Linked DNA regions of Homo sapiens: regions 1 and 2 are each linked to region 3. The links are contacts of gene promoters, found by promoter capture Hi-C in human tissues and cell types (Jung and others, 2019). All regions are on one chromosome and are shown on one strand. Each heading gives the region's core, a stretch centred on a gene start or on the middle of the fragment in contact. The rest is flanking DNA. Distances are from core to core; before and after follow the strand shown.

Evidence for each region. Contacts are between HindIII fragments. The study calls those that stand out against the background at their distance.
Region 1: a fragment that was not itself captured here is called in contact with the fragment with the promoter of KCNRG in region 3 in 4 of the 25 tissues and cell types used here (heart left ventricle, heart right ventricle, hippocampus and 1 more).
Region 2: a fragment that was not itself captured here is called in contact with the fragment with the promoter of KCNRG in region 3 in 1 of the 25 tissues and cell types used here (mesenchymal stem cells).

Annotation. Positions count from the first base shown.
Region 1 is chr13:50,672,362-50,675,061 of GRCh38, reverse strand. No RefSeq gene overlaps it. Among named protein-coding and RNA genes, the nearest start is that of DLEU7-AS1, 130 kb to the left of the region's middle. The HindIII fragment of the contact is 4,162 bases long and covers 1-2,700 here.
Region 2 is chr13:50,614,566-50,617,265 of GRCh38, reverse strand. No RefSeq gene overlaps it. Among named protein-coding and RNA genes, the nearest start is that of DLEU1-AS1, 88 kb to the right of the region's middle. The HindIII fragment of the contact is 3,508 bases long and covers 1-2,700 here.
Region 3 is chr13:50,014,096-50,016,946 of GRCh38, reverse strand. KCNRG (potassium channel regulator) reads right to left here and starts at 1,503. Exons shown (of 2, transcript NM_173605.2): 1 at 876-1,503. The coding sequence starts at 1,453. It overlaps TRIM13 (tripartite motif containing 13), which reads right to left. Exons shown (of 2, transcript NM_213590.3): 2 at 1-2,851. The region is part of intron 10 of DLEU2 (deleted in lymphocytic leukemia 2); the gene reads left to right. The HindIII fragment of the contact is 16,932 bases long and covers 1-2,851 here.

The sequences.
Region 1 (2,700 bases), core at 149-2,648, 660 kb before region 3:
GATCTTGCCTTGTTGAGAACCACTGGTTCAGAGGGTACAGTGAGCCAAGTCTAAACTCAGGTGTCTCTCCTGTATGTCAAGGCATGCAATAAAAGCATCATTGTCACCACAGCTAGAATAATTTGCAGTGGGACCTCCAAAACACCTGGAAGCAAAGAAGTGAAGGCTGCTGGGACTGTCTCTTAGGACAACGTGAGCCTTTTCTGGACATTTTCATGATCCTCTGGGTCACCTTCATTCCTACACTGGGAACATGGCTGCCAAAGTGTTGTAGGTGTCCGATTCCACAGCTCTTCTGCCAGAGCAGGACTCAGGTTTTCTCTCCAGCAACGGTTACATCTAAGGCTTCCCCAAACTCATTCCCTTGACTTGGGGTCTCATAAGCTCCTCCTTATCCCAAGCAGAGAAGCATGAGCTGAAGTTGAAGGGTGACAGAGACTTATGCTCTATGACACATACTGGGAACCACCTGCCCTGTGTCCATTCCTCACTAACAAAATTCAGTTTTTGTTTAGTGTTATAGCAAGGGGTAGCCATGCCAAAAGGTTCTGATTAATGAGATATAAGTTGAGAGTTTCTGGGAAAGCTTTTGCTTTCCTAATACAAATGCTGCCATTTCCTATTTTGCATTCCATTTCTTCCCTCTGCTTTGGAAAGATCATGTGTTGTCTGGTGGGGCAGCAGCCATTTTGCAGTCATGAGGCAAAAACTTACTTAAGTATGATGAAATGAAAAAACTGAAACAAAAAAAAAAAAACTGGGCCTCTGATGGCATCGTTGTAGAGCCCTAGACTGCCTAATCTGAAACTTCTAGTTGTGTTAAATTTCTATTCTCTGTTTAAACTACTGTAGTCAAGGGCCCGTGGTGGCTCATGCCTGTAATCCCAGCAGTTTGGGAGGTCGAGGCTGGAGGATTGCTTGAGGCCAGGATTTGAAATCAGTATGGGTAACACAGTGAGACTACATCTCTACATAAAAGTTAGCCAGGTGTGGTGGTGCATGCCTGTAGCCCCAGCAACTTTGGAGGCTGAGGTGGGGGCAGGAATCACAGGAGCCTCAGGAATCAAGGCTGCAATGAGCTATGATTGCACTCTAGCTTAGGTAACAGAGTGAGATACTGTCTCCAAAAAAAGAAAAAAGAAAAACTGTGGTCAGGGTTTTTATTTTTGTTTAGTCATTTCAATCATTCATCTGTTAAAAATTGTTTATTAAGTACTTACTTTGTGTTAGGCACTGTCCTGGACAAAATGTAAGCTTCCTACTCTCATAGAGCTTATATTTTTATAGGGAAGAAAAATAAAACAATAAGTCAAATATATAGCATATCAGATAATCCTAAATGCTAATAACAAATGAAGCAGAAAACAGTTATAGAAAGAATATGTGGAAGAGCGAGAGTGGAGAGCAGGTTACTATTTTAGGCCATGTGGTCAAGAAAGGCTTCACTGAGAAAGTAACATTTGAATCCAGACCGAAAGGAGATGATGAGGGAGCCAGCCTTGCAGGTGTCTGGGGGAAGAACATTCCAAGAAAGAGAACAGCAACTGCAAAGGCCCCGAGGCAACAGGTTACCTTGTACGTTTAAGGAACAGTGAAGAGGCCAGAAAAGAGTTAAGAGAGGCCAGGGGTAGGGGAGGGGATTAAGGCGAGGCACAGAAAAAACAAGGGGCCGCAGTGTGGAGAATCTTGCAGATCATCGTAAGGATTTTTGCTTCTAAAGTGGGGAAGCTCTTGGAGAGTTTGAACAGAGGACTGACTTGATCTGATACACACTTCAGCAGGATCGCTCTCGGTACCCTGTTGAGAATAAACTCAAGAGGAATGGGAAGGTTGGGGGCAGAGTAAGGAGATCCATTTTGAGGCTATTGAACCAATCCATGGAGAAAGGATGGCAGCTTGGATGGAGTGGGGCAGTGAAGTGGAGAGGAGTAGTGGGATTCTCAGTTTGACATCAACGTAAAGCCCAAGACTGTGCTGATGAAGCAAACGTGAAGGGTGTGACAGAAGAGCCCAGGAGGGCTCCCGAGGCCTTCACTGGAGCTATCGGAAGAGGGAACTGCCATTGACTGAATCAGAGAGAACTAGGAGAGGAGCAGGCTTGAAGGGATTGGGCACTCAGCGCCGTCCTAACTGGGTGTGCACAGACACATGATGAGTCTACAGGATGTGTCTTGGTCTCCCTGGACCCGAGTGTCTTCTCTGCCTCCTTCCCAGTGCAACCTCCTCTTCCCTGTTCCTGTCTCTGGTGTTGATCAGCAAGCCTGGAACTCCTGAAAGTGCTGAAATCAATACTCTGTTCTGTCCCTTATGTTTAACTTAATAAGGCCAGAAAATGGGCCAAATGAATATTTTAGAAATGTTTTGAATTAAAAGAGTGGGAAAGCTTCTGTTTGTTCAAGATTTCCCAATGAGCTCATGTTTCATAAATTTTAAAAAATCAGTACAAGGACTCCTTGGTTTTTCATGGGAAAGAGCTGGCCCCTGAGGAGTGGTCAGCCACAAGCTGGGCGTTGATGATGACCCTTTCATGTGCACTGCCCTTCACAGCTATTAAGCATCCTGTTGTGCTTTCATTTGTCACTATTTGATTTTCAACTAAATCTCATAAAGTTCCTCTCATTTGTGAATAAGGAAACTGAGGCTTGAAATGTTCAGGCCACTTACAGTCTATCTGATTAGAAATCAACAGGGGCAGAATTT
Region 2 (2,700 bases), core at 120-2,619, 600 kb before region 3:
AAAGCTCACCTTCCCACTCAAACCTGGCTGTTCCACAAGGATAATAGCTTCCCTCCTTTGAATGACAGGCCTACTTCCGGCAGGCTCCATGTTACCTGAGCTCTGCAGAGGCACGGATCTGCTTCCAGCCGCCTCCCTTAACCAAGTTTGACCCGACTGCACTTACCAGGAGCTGGGCTATTTTCAAGTTTGATGTATATTTTCATTTCTAATTTTCAAAAGGTATTTTAGTTGTTTTCAGCCAGTTTCACAGGGAAGAGTGAGGCCAGATGTCTTGACTCTGCCACTCGACTGAAGACCCTGATGTGGCCAAGAAATGCTTCTGGATCCATTTCTTCTAAAAGTGGATTTCATAAATAATGTGATCTAATGAGAGATGATCTCATGGAAACATGGGTCTTGGCTGAATGCAAATGGAGTTTTAGACAATAAAGTTTGAGAATCTTTGGTGTGGTCCAAAAAGTGCCATCTCCATAGCTGAGACAGTATCAGAGAGCCCTGAAACAGCAGCAGTCATCTGCTGGTGTGAGCTGGGATCTTCATCACACCTTCTTACTTCACCTCAAAACAAGCCAGGCGGCCACTTCAGAAAAAGTTCCTCACTGTTCAGTATCACTGAACAAAGGATGCCTCAGAAGAGTCAATGAGCCCCCAAACCTTTTAAAGTTTATAATTGTGTATGTGTTATTATAAGATTTTTGTTAAATTGAGTTGTAATTCTCTCTTGGCCTATTGTTCCTATAGTTTTTAAGATGAAAGAACTAAAGTGAACAACTGTTTCTTGTGCATTACTCTTTTAAAATATTCTTTTCAGAGATAATATTGAGAAGTGGTGGGAGAATATATTTTGAAAATAAAAGAGACTCAGGCTTTAGTCAACATGAAGAATTGCTGTGCTTGTTGCAAAGAGGCAATGACCTCATGCCGGGAGGATGCACAGCTAACTCTTACAGAGCACTTCCTATGTGTGCCTCACTCAGTCTCCTCAACAGTGCCTCCTAGAGAGGTTCTATTACATTATCCCCATTTTACAGATGAAGAAACTGAGTCACAGTAAGCTTAGGTAATTTGTCCAAAGTTGTAATAATAGCATGCCGAAGACTGGAACCCAGGCAGTGGAATCACAAAACTAAAGCCCACATAAAACAAGCAAAGAGCATTCAAGTACTAAATAGAATGGCACTAAATTTAAGTCTAGTTTTCCCCCACTCATTTTTAGAAACTCCTCTCTTGAAGATTACTCCATAATCTTCTAGTCACTAAATACACAGGCATTTCTAAGATCTTATTTTCTTCTGTCTCTCTGAAGCTTTTGTTACTCTTGAACAAAACTTTCTTTATGAGGTGAAAGGCATCACTGCAGCAGAGAAACTTGCACTTGACCCTAGAGTAGTCAATAGGGAGCTATTGAAGATCCTTGAGCAAGGGAGCAATGGGCTTAAAGTGGTCCCTTAGGAGGATCAGCATGGCAGGGTGATTCAGGAGAGTCCGACTGGACTGGGTGAGCTGGAGAGCTTCTCTAGGTAAGATCAGCCAACAGCTGCTACAGGAAATGGCATGGATTCATGACTGAACTCTAAGAAATATTCATGCTAAGAAATATTCATGTTAATCATACTTGATTAACAGAAGTAACATTAAAATACTCAGAATGATTTTTTAAAATGTCCTTATGAAACTTATTTTCTTAGAGTTCAAGGCTACCATGGAGAACATGGTATGGTCAATTACTCAGTGTTTCCTTTGTCAGGATCCACGGGAAAATATCTCTCAGGTTGTGCTGCTCCTGAGCAGTTTTATGGTGTGTTATCAACTCTGAGTCCCACAGGTGCACATGGGCCCTCTTTGTAGTTCCTGCTAGGAAGCTCAGAAGGAAATGCATGACTTCTAGGGAAAAGGGACATGCAATTTTATAGCTGGCCTTTGTGTCCTCACCACAATCTTGGCTCCATCTGTGTTTTCTTCTTGTACTCACCTTTTGCCATATTTTCTCATTTACTTTGGAATTAACTCGTTTTACCATGCCATATGTATTTTTTTAAAGACAGGGTCTCCCTCTGTCACCCGGGCTGGAGTGCAGTGGTGTGATCATAGCTCACGGCAGTCTTGAGCTCTTAGGCTCAAGCAATCCTCCTGCCTCCATCTCCCAAGTAGCTAGGACTACAAGCAGGCACCATCACATCTAGCTAATTTATTAGGTTTTCAGTAGAGATGAGGTTTCACTACGTCGCTCAGGCTGGTCTCAAACTCCTGAGCTCAAGCGATCTTCCTGCCTCAGCCTCCCAAAGTGCTGGGATTATAGGCATGAGCCACTGCACCCAGCTCCCATATGTATCTTTGAAAGATACGGTAAATATTTGTAGAAGACAGAAGGGAGAGAGAGAAAGGAGAAGAGAAATGAAACTTTAAAACAAGAAACATGATTCAAGCAAACCAACTCTAAGAAGACGTGTATTTATTTATTTGTTTGTTTCAGAGACAGGGTCTTGCGCTGTTGCCCAGGCTGGAATGCAGTGGTGCCATTAGCTCACTGCAGCCTCAAACTCCTGGGCTCAAGGAATCTCCTCCCTCAGTCCCCTGAGTAGCTCCCTGATGGCACTACAGGCATGTGCCACCACACCTGGCTGATTTTCCTTTTTTTTTTTAGAGATAGGATCTCACTATGTTGCCCAGGCTGGCCTCTAACTCCGGGCCTCAAAC
Region 3 (2,851 bases), core at 254-2,753:
ACTGGTATCCTTCCTGTTGGCTACTGCTCAAGTTAAGAAAATATCTTAAAATACGCCTACCTTTACCAAAAAAAAAAAAAAAAGTATATTTTAAATGATACCAATAAAGAACACATGCAGGCTTTTCTTTTCCTCCTAAAAATTAAAGCCAGCTTTCACAGTTGGTAAAATAATGGTAGGACAGCATTAAGACATTTTACGGGGGGAAAAATGTTTGTGACAGCAGAGTGGAAATCAGCGTTAGGATCCAGCCAAGAACAACAGAGGGAGTAAGTGAAGAATTGACTCAGGAGCAACTATCCTTAACATACTGACAGCCTATCCCAATATTTTGAGTTGTTTAAGAGCCAAGGCTGTAACAGGATACCAAATTTGCCATGAGATATATCTGTCTTTAAGGGTGTTTAAAAATAAAGTCAGCTGAAGGAAAAACAGTAGTTGAATCATAAAACTGAAAGAACAACTTATATAGTGTGTAAGGAACTCAAGAGAAACCAGTGAGCGAGCCTTTATGTGAACCACTGAAACAATCTCTTAAAAATAAGGCAATTCTTTTCTAAGTCAAATTCATTAGCAATGGAACATAATCTACAAAATTATTTTCTCCCATGATTTGAATGTCCATAGTCTCAGTTTTTTCTGGGCAGTCTTCATTTATTCCTTTTGTCCCACCTAATAATAGCCCCTTTCACTCTAAAAAGTATCCCAGTTTGGAAAATAATTATTTGGTCATTCTACCCAACTCCACTGGTTACCCCAAAACATTATTTTGAATAATCATCTTTTCCAGAAGTTACAGGCCTGAGGAACTTCAAGTTTTTAGAGAAAACATCACAAACTGGTATACAAGAGAAATACTGCAAAGTACAAAATACCTGACTCCAGTTTGGTTATCAGTAGTGCTGTCAGAACCACACTGGAAAACCAGGTCATGGTAAGAAGGTCTTTGTGGAGGCAGTGGAAGTAAGGTCATCTGAGGAGGGAAAAAGTTACCATTCCAGGTCGGCGCTGAAGGTTGTTCTGTAAACACTGTAATCCTCCCTGTTAGCATCTCAATTGTTTTGCTGCAAGAGCCAAACACCCTGAAAAAAGCTTGAGTGTTCCGGCTTAGGAAATGTACCTCCACAAGAGCAGGTCTTGGCTGTAGCAGGTATGGGTTTAAGAGATCAACTAGAGAACGAAGTTCATAGAAAAGAGCCTCTCTCTGAAGCCTAAGATAGTCTGAAAATTCAGTGGGTAATAAAAGCTGGTGAGTTCTCAAAAAATCTAAGATGAAACTAAACAAATCACCATCTCTGTCTACAAAAATCTGGCCACCAACCATCTTGAATTCTTGGTCTCTGCCATCTAACATGCGTGCCAAACGAGAAGCAGGAAACTGCTTTATCGTAGAAAACCTTGTCGTGAATATCTTCCCTCCCACATTCAAAGTGACCAGTTCCTGACTACTCATTCTTCCCTCACTTCAAACTAGAGGCTACCATCAGCCACACTTAGGAAATCAACCTATAACCATAAATGTTGCTAGTTATACATGATTATGCAGTGGAGGGGAGGGAAGAATAACAAAAACCAGACTTAGATTCCCAGGAAACTACTGTAAGGTAAATAGTGTATCCATGGCTGTGTTTGCAAATTCGAGTTGCCTGGGAACTTGCAGTATACAAAATGAAAAAGCAACAGATGAGGAACTAAATAGCTTAAGGAAAACTGCCAATATATCTGAAGATAGACATCAAATAGATCCCTTTCCTGTCTTACATTTAAAAACTTATCCATGAAAACCTAGTAAAACTATATATATATATATATATATATATATATATATATATATATATATATATATATATATTTTTTTTTTTTTTTTTTTTATTACTGGGAGGGGAAAAGCATTCTCCCTCCCCATACCTGTCTACCACGCAGAGGCTAGACTTAAACGTTTTTCTTAATTTCTTATGATCTCCTTAGAAATTTAGTGGCTAAATCATGAATTACATGTTAGGAATGAGACAGCCTGGCAAGCTCAATTTGACTATTCTCATAGCTAGAAGGAAATCATTTCTTCTGTGCTTTAAATTTAGTTGCCACCTTTTATCCTGTCCCCATTTTCATTACCTCCTCTCAACCAAATTAGAGGAGGACTGAGGTAAAGAACTCTTATTTTCAGAAAGTCTATTCCACTTAATGGGCTTTCAAGGAATATCTTACTCTATGACACAAATAAGGCAGACTAGAGAGCAGTTATAAGGTTACTTCTTTGTTATATGAATTCTAAGCAAGGTGTTTATTCCATGAGAGGGTATCTTTATCTCTTGTGAGCAGACAGAACAGCATTAGTGTTCAGCTGATTACTTTGTAATAGCTGACAGACTGTTTTATCTGTTGTCAAATTAGTCTTAACTACACTAAACATTCTTTCTGTAAGCAAGTGGATTGGTTTGGTTGTACACTTGCCATCTTTCGAACAAAACAACACATAGCTGCCAGAAAAAAGGTAGTCTTCCCATTTCCTGCTCTTGCCATGTGTTCTATATATACATATATATGTATATATATGTATGTGTACATATGTGTGTGTGTGTGTGTATATATATATATATATTTTTTTTTTTTTTTTTTTTTTTTTTTTTTTTGGTAGAGACTGGGTCTTGCTATGTTTACGAAGCTGGTTTCGAACTGGAACTCCTAGCCTCAAATAATCCTCCCACATCACTGTCCTAGAATGCTGAGATTATAGACATGAGCCACCCTGCCCAGCCAGCTGATCCTTTTTTTTAACCTATCTATGCTTTTGCTTGCATAGCCACTTAACATTTCTAGTTGATCATCTTTGGTGAAAACTACAAAAACA